Regions from separate parts of the Homo sapiens genome. Here region 1 is linked to region 2. The links are contacts of gene promoters, found by promoter capture Hi-C in human tissues and cell types (Jung and others, 2019). All regions are on one chromosome and are shown on one strand. The core of a region is centred on a gene start or on the middle of the fragment in contact, and the rest is flanking DNA. Distances in the headings are between cores, read along the strand shown.

The links. The method cuts DNA at HindIII sites, captures the fragments that hold promoters and counts their contacts. A contact is called where the count stands out against the background at its distance.
Region 1: a contact is called between a fragment that was not itself captured here and the fragment with the promoter of TACC2 in region 2, in 4 of the 25 tissues and cell types used here (heart left ventricle, liver, pancreas and 1 more).

What each region holds. Positions count from the first base shown.
Region 1 is chr10:121,917,976-121,922,359 of GRCh38, reverse strand. It overlaps ATE1 (arginyltransferase 1), which reads left to right. Exons shown (of 12, transcript NM_001001976.3): 3 at 1-11. Among named protein-coding and RNA genes, the nearest start is that of ATE1, 7.9 kb to the left of the region's middle. The HindIII fragment of the contact is 7,719 bases long and covers 1-4,384 here.
Region 2 is chr10:121,987,166-121,992,195 of GRCh38, reverse strand. TACC2 (transforming acidic coiled-coil containing protein 2) reads right to left here and starts at 3,033. Exons shown (of 23, transcript NM_206862.4): 1 at 2,708-3,033. The HindIII fragment of the contact is 30,860 bases long and covers 1-5,030 here.

The DNA of each region.
Region 1 (4,384 bases), core at 1,479-3,978, 70 kb after region 2:
TACACAATAAGGTAAGAATTTTAATTAGTAGAAAGAGGATTTATAGTATGAAGATTGTGTATAATATTTTAGTAGTCTCTTGTGCTTTTTTAATGTTTATTTCCGCTCTAGGTAGATGTCCTTTAAAAGGAAAAGTAAATGAGTTATGTCTTTTCTTCATACTGATGCTGTATTTATGTGCTGATCAGTAGGTTTTAGTAATATTGTTTGATTGGTTCAGATATAAATATGTGAAAAAAATACCCTCTTAATTTAGCAATCTTGTCAATGAATGCCATGAAATATTGGGAAAATGTTGGTAAATATTCACATTACTTTTGGATATTAAATATTATAGGACTTAGCTTAGAATTTTCTGCATTCTGGTGTATTGCTTGACACAGTGCTTGTGTTCAAGCAATGCTACAGGCTCCTATAAATTACTTGGTAGGTTCACGTTCTCATGTTGTGGGATTCAGGAGGACAAGAGAGACCTCGGGTTAAAACAGGAGAAACTTTATTGAGTGCACTTAGGCCCAGCTGACTCAACGTCTAAAAGACTGGGCCCGGAACAAAGACTTTTATACACAGTTCACAGAAGGGGGTGGGCTAGCTTGAAGCAAGCTTACAGTGGCGTGAAAGCAGGGATACAGAGGCAGGACAAACTCAGGATTGCACATGACCGTTGCCAAGCAACCCAGATGTCCGTTATCTAGGTTTGCCTGGGCTTATCCCATAATCTTCACTATGGTGCCCAGGCAGCTGCAGTTCAGGCCTACTCAGGCTTCTCATGACATTCATTGTACTTCTCAGATAAAACAATACTTGAAGTCACTAGTTACAGAGAACAGGAATCTATGAACTCATTCCGTAAAACAAAGGAAAATTTATTTTTTCTTCTCTGCATGTTGAGTGCTGGGAGAATCTCCAGAGCACACTAGATAATATTATCAAGGCTTTTCCTGGGTCTGGGCCGTGCCTGTTGCTGCCTCTGGGACAAGTCGGCCTAATACAGGAAAGCTTATTTATCTTTCTTTTTAATTTTATTTTTCTTTAATTTCCCACCTCACTCACTTATAAGTGGGAGCTAAACCTTGGGTACTCAGACATAAAGATGGCAAAAGTAGAAGCTGGAGACTACTAGAGGAGGAGGGAGGGCGTGAGCTAAGGGTTGAAAAACCAACTTGGTATGACGATCAGTACCTGGGTGGTGGGATCATCCATATTGCAAACCTCAGCATCATGCAATATATCCAGGTCACCAGCCTGTACCTATACCCCCTGAATCTAAAATAAAAGTTGAAAAAAAAATTAATTGGAAGGAAGAGGGCTTAAATTTAATCTGCCACTTACACTTAGAGTCCAGTTTTTTTTTTTTTTTTTTAAAGAGACGGAGTCTCGCACTGTCGCCTGGGCTGGAGTGCAATGGCGCGATCTCGGCTCACTGCAACCTCTGCCTCCTGGGTTCAAGTGATTCTCCTGCCTCAGCCTCCCGAGTAGCTGGGATTACAGGTGCCTGCCACCACGCCCGGCTAATTTTTTGTATTTTTAGTAGAGATGGGGTTTCACTATGTTGGCCAGGCTGGTCTTGAACTCCTGACCTCATGATCCACCTGCCTCAGCCTCCCAAAGTGCTGATATTACAGGCGTGAGCCACTGCACCTGGCCCAGAGTCCAGTTTTCTTAAATGGGAAACTTAAACCAAAGTCTATTTTCCTACAAAGTCTTCGTTGGATTTTTTCATAATCTTTTGGATTTTCCATGTACCTTCTCACCTCACCCTAACATAGAAAAATCTTCTCTCTTATTCTGGTTATAAGGTCATCATCATCTTTTTCTTCTTTTTTCTTTTTTTTTTTGAGACAGGGTCTTGCTCAGGCTGGAATGCAGTAGCACAACCATGGCTCACTGCAGCCTGCCTGCCAGGCTCAAGTAATCCTCCCACCTCAGCCTCCCAAGTAGCTGGGACTGTAGGTACACACCACCAGGCCTGGCAAATTACATTTTTTTTTATAGAAAAGGGGTCTTGCCATGTTTCCTAGGCAGATCTCACCATGTTTCCTAGGCTGATCTCGCCATGTTTCCTAGGCTGATCTCCAACTTCTAGGCTCAAAGGAGCCTCCTGCCTCAGCCTCCCAAAGTGCTGGGATTATAGGTGTGAGCTACTACTGCACCTGAACCTTTTTTTTTGATAGAAAATGTGAAAAGTGCGTTAACATTTTGAAGCATGTATTTGCCCCCAATTTCAATGTGTATATATACTCATAAAATTAAAAGACAGTTTTACTTTAAGAAATGAAAAATTAAAAAATTAAACAGTTTTTTGTCCATTAGTTTTTTTGTTTGGTCCTCAAAGCTGTCTCCCTTGGTTGCTCTTAACTTGTTTTTGGGTTGCAAACCATTTTGAGAAGTCGATGAGAGCTGGCCTCCTGCCCAAAGGGATGTAGACAAAAATATGTAACATTTTGCATATCCTCCCCACCGAGACTGAGTCTTGCTGTGTCACCCAGGCTGGAGTGCAGTGGTGTGATCTCAGCTCACTGCAGTGTCCGCCTCCTGGGTTCTAGCAGTGCTCTTGCCTTAGCCACCTGAGTATCCGGGACTACAGATGCCCACCGCTAGGCCTGGTTAATTTTTGTGTTTTTAGTAGAGACGGGGTTTCACCATGTTGGCCGCGCTACTCTCGAACTCGTGATCTACCCACCTCAAAGTGCTGGGATTTCAGGCGTGAGCCACCATGCCCAGCACATTTTGCGTGTTAATTTTAGAATGATCGCAGACTCCCAAAGGTTCACTGATACTTGATTAGGAGCTTTTTTTTTGAGATGGAGTCTTGCTGTCGCCCAGGCTGGAGTGCAGTGGTGCTATCTCGGCTCACTGCAACCTCTGCCTCCCGTGTTCAAGCGATTCTCCTGCCTCAGCCTCCCGACTAGCTGGGATTACAGGCGTGCACCACCACACCTGGCTAATTTTTTTGATATTTTTAGTAGAGATGGGTTTCACCATGTTGGCCAAGCTGGTCTCGAACTCCTGACCTCAGGTGATCTGCCCGCTTCAGCCCCCCAAAGTGCTGGTGTATCTGGAGTTGGTTCCTTCTGGTGGGTTCTTGGTCTCGCTCACTTCAAGAATGAAGCCGCAGACCTTCGCAGTGAGTGTTACAGCTCTTAAATGTGACGCAGACCCAAAGAATGAGCAGCAGCAAGATTTATTGTGAAGTGTGAAAGAACAAACCTTCCACAGTGTGGAAGGGGACCCTAGTGGGTTGCCACTGCTGGGTAGGGTGGCCAGCTTTTATTCCCTTATTTGTCCCTGCCCATGTCCTGCTGATTGGTCCATTTTACAGAGTGCTGATTGGTCCATTTTATAGAGTGCTGATTGGTCCATTTTATAGAGTGCTGATTGGTCCATTTTACAAACCTCTAGCCACAGAGCACTGATTGGTGCGTTTTACAATCCTCTAGCTAGCTACAGAGCGCCGATTGGGGCGTTTTACAATCCTAGCTACAGAGAGCTGATTGGTGCATTTTACAATCCTCTTGTAAGAAAAGTTCTTCACGTCCCCCCCACCCCCGCCCCGACCCAGAAGTCCAGCTGGCCGTTGGATTGGCAGAGGATGAGAAAAATGGGGTCTGGTTTGCTGACACTGTGTCATTACACAAAGAATAGAATGACAGAGTATCCTGTGCTGTCCTCTTTCAGTTTTCGTGGTTATAAAGAGAAGGTATCTTCTAAGGCAGAAGTCATTTGTCTTCAATTAGCAATTTATTGGATTATGGACAGGATTCTATTCATAAGTTTGAAGTTGATTGGCTTAATCTGTGATCAGAAAAGGGTGATTTCGATTGGTTAAAGAAAAAAGAATCTAAATTGTATTTGGTGCCTGTTACATGGAAAGCACTATTCTAAGCATATTGCCTTTATAAAAGGGGATTCATTAACATTGCAAAATAAAGTAGTTATGTGATTTTTGCATTTTACGTGGCATCAAATGTTTCCTGAATTGCGTCTCTTTGTAATTCATTATACATCATCTTTTTTTTTTTTTTTTGAGACAGAATCTTGTTTAGTCTCCCAGGCTGGAGTGCAGTGGCGCGATCTCTGCTCACTGAAACCTCCGCCTCCCAGGTTCAAGTGATTCTTCTGCCTCAGCCTCCTGAGTAGCTGGGACTACAGGCGCATGCCACCATGCCCTGCTAATTTTTGTATTTTTAGTAGAGACGGGGTTTCACCATATTGGCCAGGTTGGTCTGGAACTCCTGACCTCATGATCCGCCTGCCTTGGCCTCCCAAAGTGCTGGGATTACAGGCGTTGAGCCACTGGGCCCAGCCACATCATCTTTTTATGGAGTCATTTTCCATATTTACTCTTCTGGTTATTTTTACCTTGTATATAACAGCAGTTGCA
Region 2 (5,030 bases), core at 1,784-4,283:
TTTGTTCCCAGTTTATTGATCTGGGAACAGTTTTTTAGTACTCCCACTAGCACCAACACATAAAACGTGGGTGAAATGGTGATGCAGTTTGGCTGTGTCCCCACCCGGATCTCATCTTAAATTCCCACTTGTTGCAGGAAGGACCTGGTGGGAGGTAATTGAATCATGGGGGCAGGTCTTTCCCATGTTGTTCTCATGATAGTGAATAAGTCTCACGAAATCTGATGATTTTATAAGGGGAGTTTCCCTGCACAAGCTCTTTCTTTGCCTGCTGTCATCCATGTAAGATGTGACTTGCTCCTCCTTGCCTCCTGCCATGATTATGAGGCCTCCCCAGCCACACGGAACTGTGAGTCCATTAAACCTTCTTCCTGTGTAAATTGCCCATCTTGGGCATGTCTTTATCGGCAGCATGAAAATGGACTAATGCAAATGGCTTTGAGATATAAAAAAGTTTTAAATTACACTAAAGTCACAAGTCAGAGTTCCAATGTCTGTAAACAACAGTGCAGTTCCCATGATCCTGATGAAAACCTGCAGACATCTCTGTATACCGGCTGAGATGGTGCCACCATACAGCAACAGTGTGAGTGCAGTTTCTATCATTCACTCAGCTGCTCAGCTTTGAAATGATTCTTGACCAAAACATTCATTCATTAATTAGCAAAAAAGACTTATTTTTAATTTGAGATGTGAACTATTTCAAAACTTGCTCATAAAGTCAGGTTTGATTAATGTTATTTTATTTCATATTAGTTCCTATTTGCCCAGTTGAAATACACGTAAACACAACCTTGCTGAAAATCACTAGCATGTGGCGGACAGCGCAAAGAAAACAAAACATTTCCCAGGCAATGCTTAGAGCTCCTGATTATTTAAAAGCTCTGAGGGGAAAATAAATTTAAAGTAATGTTTGAAATGACAGTAAACAGGTGGATTTATAAAAATAAAAATATACAATGTTTAAGGTTCATTTATCTCCATACATAAAATAAATAAATAAAAGCCCTCTCTTTACTGAAGAAGACAGAACACACAAATGCAACTCCTTTCCTTTAAGAGACTTCATTAAAATGATAACAAAGGCATTTTTAAAAACAAGTAGGTCCAGATGAGGCGTAGTGGCTCATACCTGTAATTCCAGTACTTTGGGAGGCTGAGACAGGTGGATCACTTGAGGTCAGGAGTTTGAAACCAGCCTGGCCAATATGGCAAAATCATCTCTACTAAAAATACAAAAATTAGCTGGGCGTGGTGGCAGGTGCCTGTAATCCCAGCTACTCAGGGGGCTGAGGCAGGAGAATCGAGTGAACCTGGGAGGCAGAGGTTGCAGTGAGCCGAGAAGGCAACACTACACTCCAGCCTGGGTAACACAGCGAGTCCCTGTCTCAAAAACAAACAAACAAACAACAACAACAAAAAAACAGGTATGTCCAGACAATAATGTAATAATGTGGCAAACTGGAGAAGGCACATTAGCTGATGAGAGCTTTCTCCATGGTTGTGGGTAATGGAAAGCAGTGACGGCCTGGTAGTTGAGGAATTAGGGCAGAGGGGCATTAGACTAGAGTAGAAGGGGCTCCAGCCAAACAAGACTCTGCAGACCCTGGAGAGGGTCTGAAACACCAGGAACAATGGTGGGAACGTACTTGGGCAGAAAATTAAAAATAAGTGTCAATGGAATCTACCCTTTGCCCTGCCTGGCCCCGTGCCATAAGACAAAAACAAAATTGAAAACGAAAGCAAAACCTTTCCTATATCCTGATATTTAAAATTCTGGCAGTGTTTGGTGGCTCATACCTATAATCCCAGCACTTTGGGAGGCTGAGGCAGGAGGATCACTTGAGCCTAGGGGTTTGAGACCAGCCTGGCCAACACGGCGAGACCCCCATCTCTATAAAAAATAAAAAATATTAGCTGAATTTAGTGGCATGCACCTGTAGTTCCAACTACTTGAGAGGATTGCTCCTGGTGGGAGGATTGCGTTAGCCCGGGAGGTCGAGGCTGCAATGAACCATCATTATGCCACTGCACTCCAGCCTGGGCAGTAGAGCAAGACCCTGTCTAAAAAAAAAAATCCACAGAAGGTTGAAGGTAAATTTAATAAAATATCTCAAAAAACAGAATTAAAGAAATATTTAAAATATGAAAAAATATTAAAGGTCTGGAGAATCAAACTGTGAGGTCCCTATCTAAGTGACGGGAGATGCAGACATGACACAGAAAAGTAGAAGGAAGAAAGTGTCGAGGTGGTAACATAAAAATATTTCCCATGCTGCACATGCTGGCATGTGCTTGTGGTACCAGCTGCTTGGGAAGCTGAGGCAGGAGAATCACTTGAGCCCAGTAGTTCTGGGCTACAGTGAGCCATGATCATGCCACCGCACTCTGGCTTGGATGACAGAGTAAGAACCTATCTCTAAAAACATAAAAAAAAAAAATAAAATTAATTTAAAAAATAAAAATAAATCATAATTTTTTCCAAAGTTGAAAGACGCAAAAGGGCTCTCACTAGGTGCCTAGCACAGTAGATGAAAATACCTCATACAGTTCTGTGAGTTGGCTGGGCTCAGCCAGGCAGTTCTCACCTTGAGTGATGGTGCTCCCCAGCCACTGAACCTAAGAAGATAGGGTTTTCCTACCCTGTATTTTCAAGTAATGGGAATCAGAGCCAACTTCATTTTCCAGCCCTCTCCTCCTTACTTACCGCACTCCAGCTGTTACCAGTAGGGAATCTGATGTGTCTGCAGCAGCAACTCTATTCTTCCCTCCTCAGAGGAAAAAATTCGCCCAAGGGGCATAAGGTAGAGTAAGAAACCAAGATAACTTTTAGAGCAGGAGTGAAAGTTTTTAAAAAAGTTTTAGAGAGGAATGAAAGGAAGTAAAGTATACTTGGAAGAGGACCAAGCGGGTGACTTGAGAAATCCCAGTGCACTGTACAACCCTTAATGTGGGGTTTTATATGTTGGCACGGTTCTGGGATTTGCGTTTCTTCTCTCCTGATCCTTCCCTTGGAGCAGGCTGTCCACTTATGCAGTGGTCTGCCAGCACTTGGGAGTGGCCGCACTCACAGTGTGTTTACTGAAGTTGTGCGCGTGCTCATTTGAGGCATTTTTCCCTTGCCAGTCGAGAATTCCTAGAGGAAGGTCATATATTAGTTAAACTCTGACATTTTGCCCCTTAGGGCCCATGCTTGAGCCCACTTGCCCAACTCCTGAGATCTTATCAGGAAGCGGCTGACACTAGCTTCAGGTGTTTTCTATCTATTGGGAGCCGGCCTTTCCCTGGTGCTGGCTGCAACCAATGATGATTTTAGAGAAACAGTGTAACAACCACCTGACCATCACATGATGGTCGCCTGACATTCCTGGTTGGGGGTGGGGGTGGAATGCCCTCTGCTGCCCTTCTCATGTTCCCCTAGCTACCTACTCTAACACAGGTATGTATGCCTTTCTGAACTTTCTTGAATGTGTCAGACTTATTTTAACCCCAAAGACTTTTTTTTGCTATTGCCTTTGACTACAATATGACTTCCCTGTATTTTTGCATGACACATTACTCCTCACAATTCAAGTCACATCTCAAATGTCACCTCCTCAGGAAAGATGTTGTGCTGCTCATCACACCTAAAATAGCAACTTTCAGGTCGGGCACAGTGACTCATGCCTGTGATCCCAGCACTTTGGGAGGCCGAGGTGGGTGGATTACTTGAGGTTAGGAGTTCAAGACCAGCCTGGCGAACATGGTAAAACCCCCTCTCTACTAAAAAGACAAAAATTAGCCGGGCGTGGTGGCAGGTGCCTGCTATCCCAGCTATTTAGGAGGCTAAGGCAGGAGAACTGCCTGAACCCAGAGGTGGAGGTTGCAGTGAGCCAAGATCGCACCACTGCACTCCAGCCTGGGTGACAGAGTGAGACTCTATCTGGAGGGAAAGAAAAAATGCAACTTCTATTCTCCACCTATCCCTTTAGCCTATTTAAATTCTTCATAGCACTTACAATGACCAAATCCTTTTTTTTTCTTTTCTTTATTATCTGTCTCCTCCATGAGAGTAGGGACTTTGTCTTATTCATCATTATACAGATGGTTCTGGAGCCACCCAACAAGTTCTTCTTCCCCACTGCACAGACAAAAATCAATTCACTGAGACCATGGCATTGCAATAGAGAAAGAGTTTAACTGCCGCGAGGCTGAGCCCACGTGGGAGAACTGGAGTTATCCCTCAGATCAGTCTCCCTGTAGGCTCGGAACAAGGGTTTTTATGGACAATTTGGTTGTCAGGGGGTAGGGGGATAGTGCCGCTGATTGGTTGGGGATGAAATCATACCGGTGTGGAAAGCAGTCCTCATGCACTGAGTCTGCCTCTGGGTGGGGCCCCAGGACCTGTTGAGTCATGAGTCATGAGTCTGAGTGAGGTCAGTCTGAAAAACATCTTAAAAAACTCAATCTTGGCTGGGCGCGGTGGCTCACGCCTGTAATCCCAGCACTTTGGGAGGCCCAGGTGGGTGGATCACAAGATCAGGAGTTCGAGACCAGCCTGGCCAAGATGGTGAAACCCCGTCTCTACTAAAAATACAAAAACAAACAAACAAACAAACACCCCAATCTTAAGTTCTACAATAGTGATGTTACTTACAGGAGCAATTGGGAAAGTCACAGATCTTGTGAACTCTGGCCACATGACCCCTGGGCATTAAGGGACTATAGAAACTATGCCTACATTTTAGCAGAGTTCTGCCTTCTCCCATTATCCTATTCCTGTGGCCTTTCATTAGTCTTACAAAGGCGATTTTGGTCCCTGAGAAAGGAGGGGGTTAGTTTTAGGGAGGGACTATTATAATCTTTACTTTCAAATTAAACTATAAATTGAATTCCTCCCAAAGTTAGCTTGGCCTATGCCCAGGAATAACCAAGGACAGCTTGGAGGTCAGAAGCAAGATGAAGTCAACCATGTCACATTTCTGTTACTGTCAGTTCTGCAAAGGCAGTTTCCTTCCCTAACATAACAATAATTTGATGTAGATTTATCA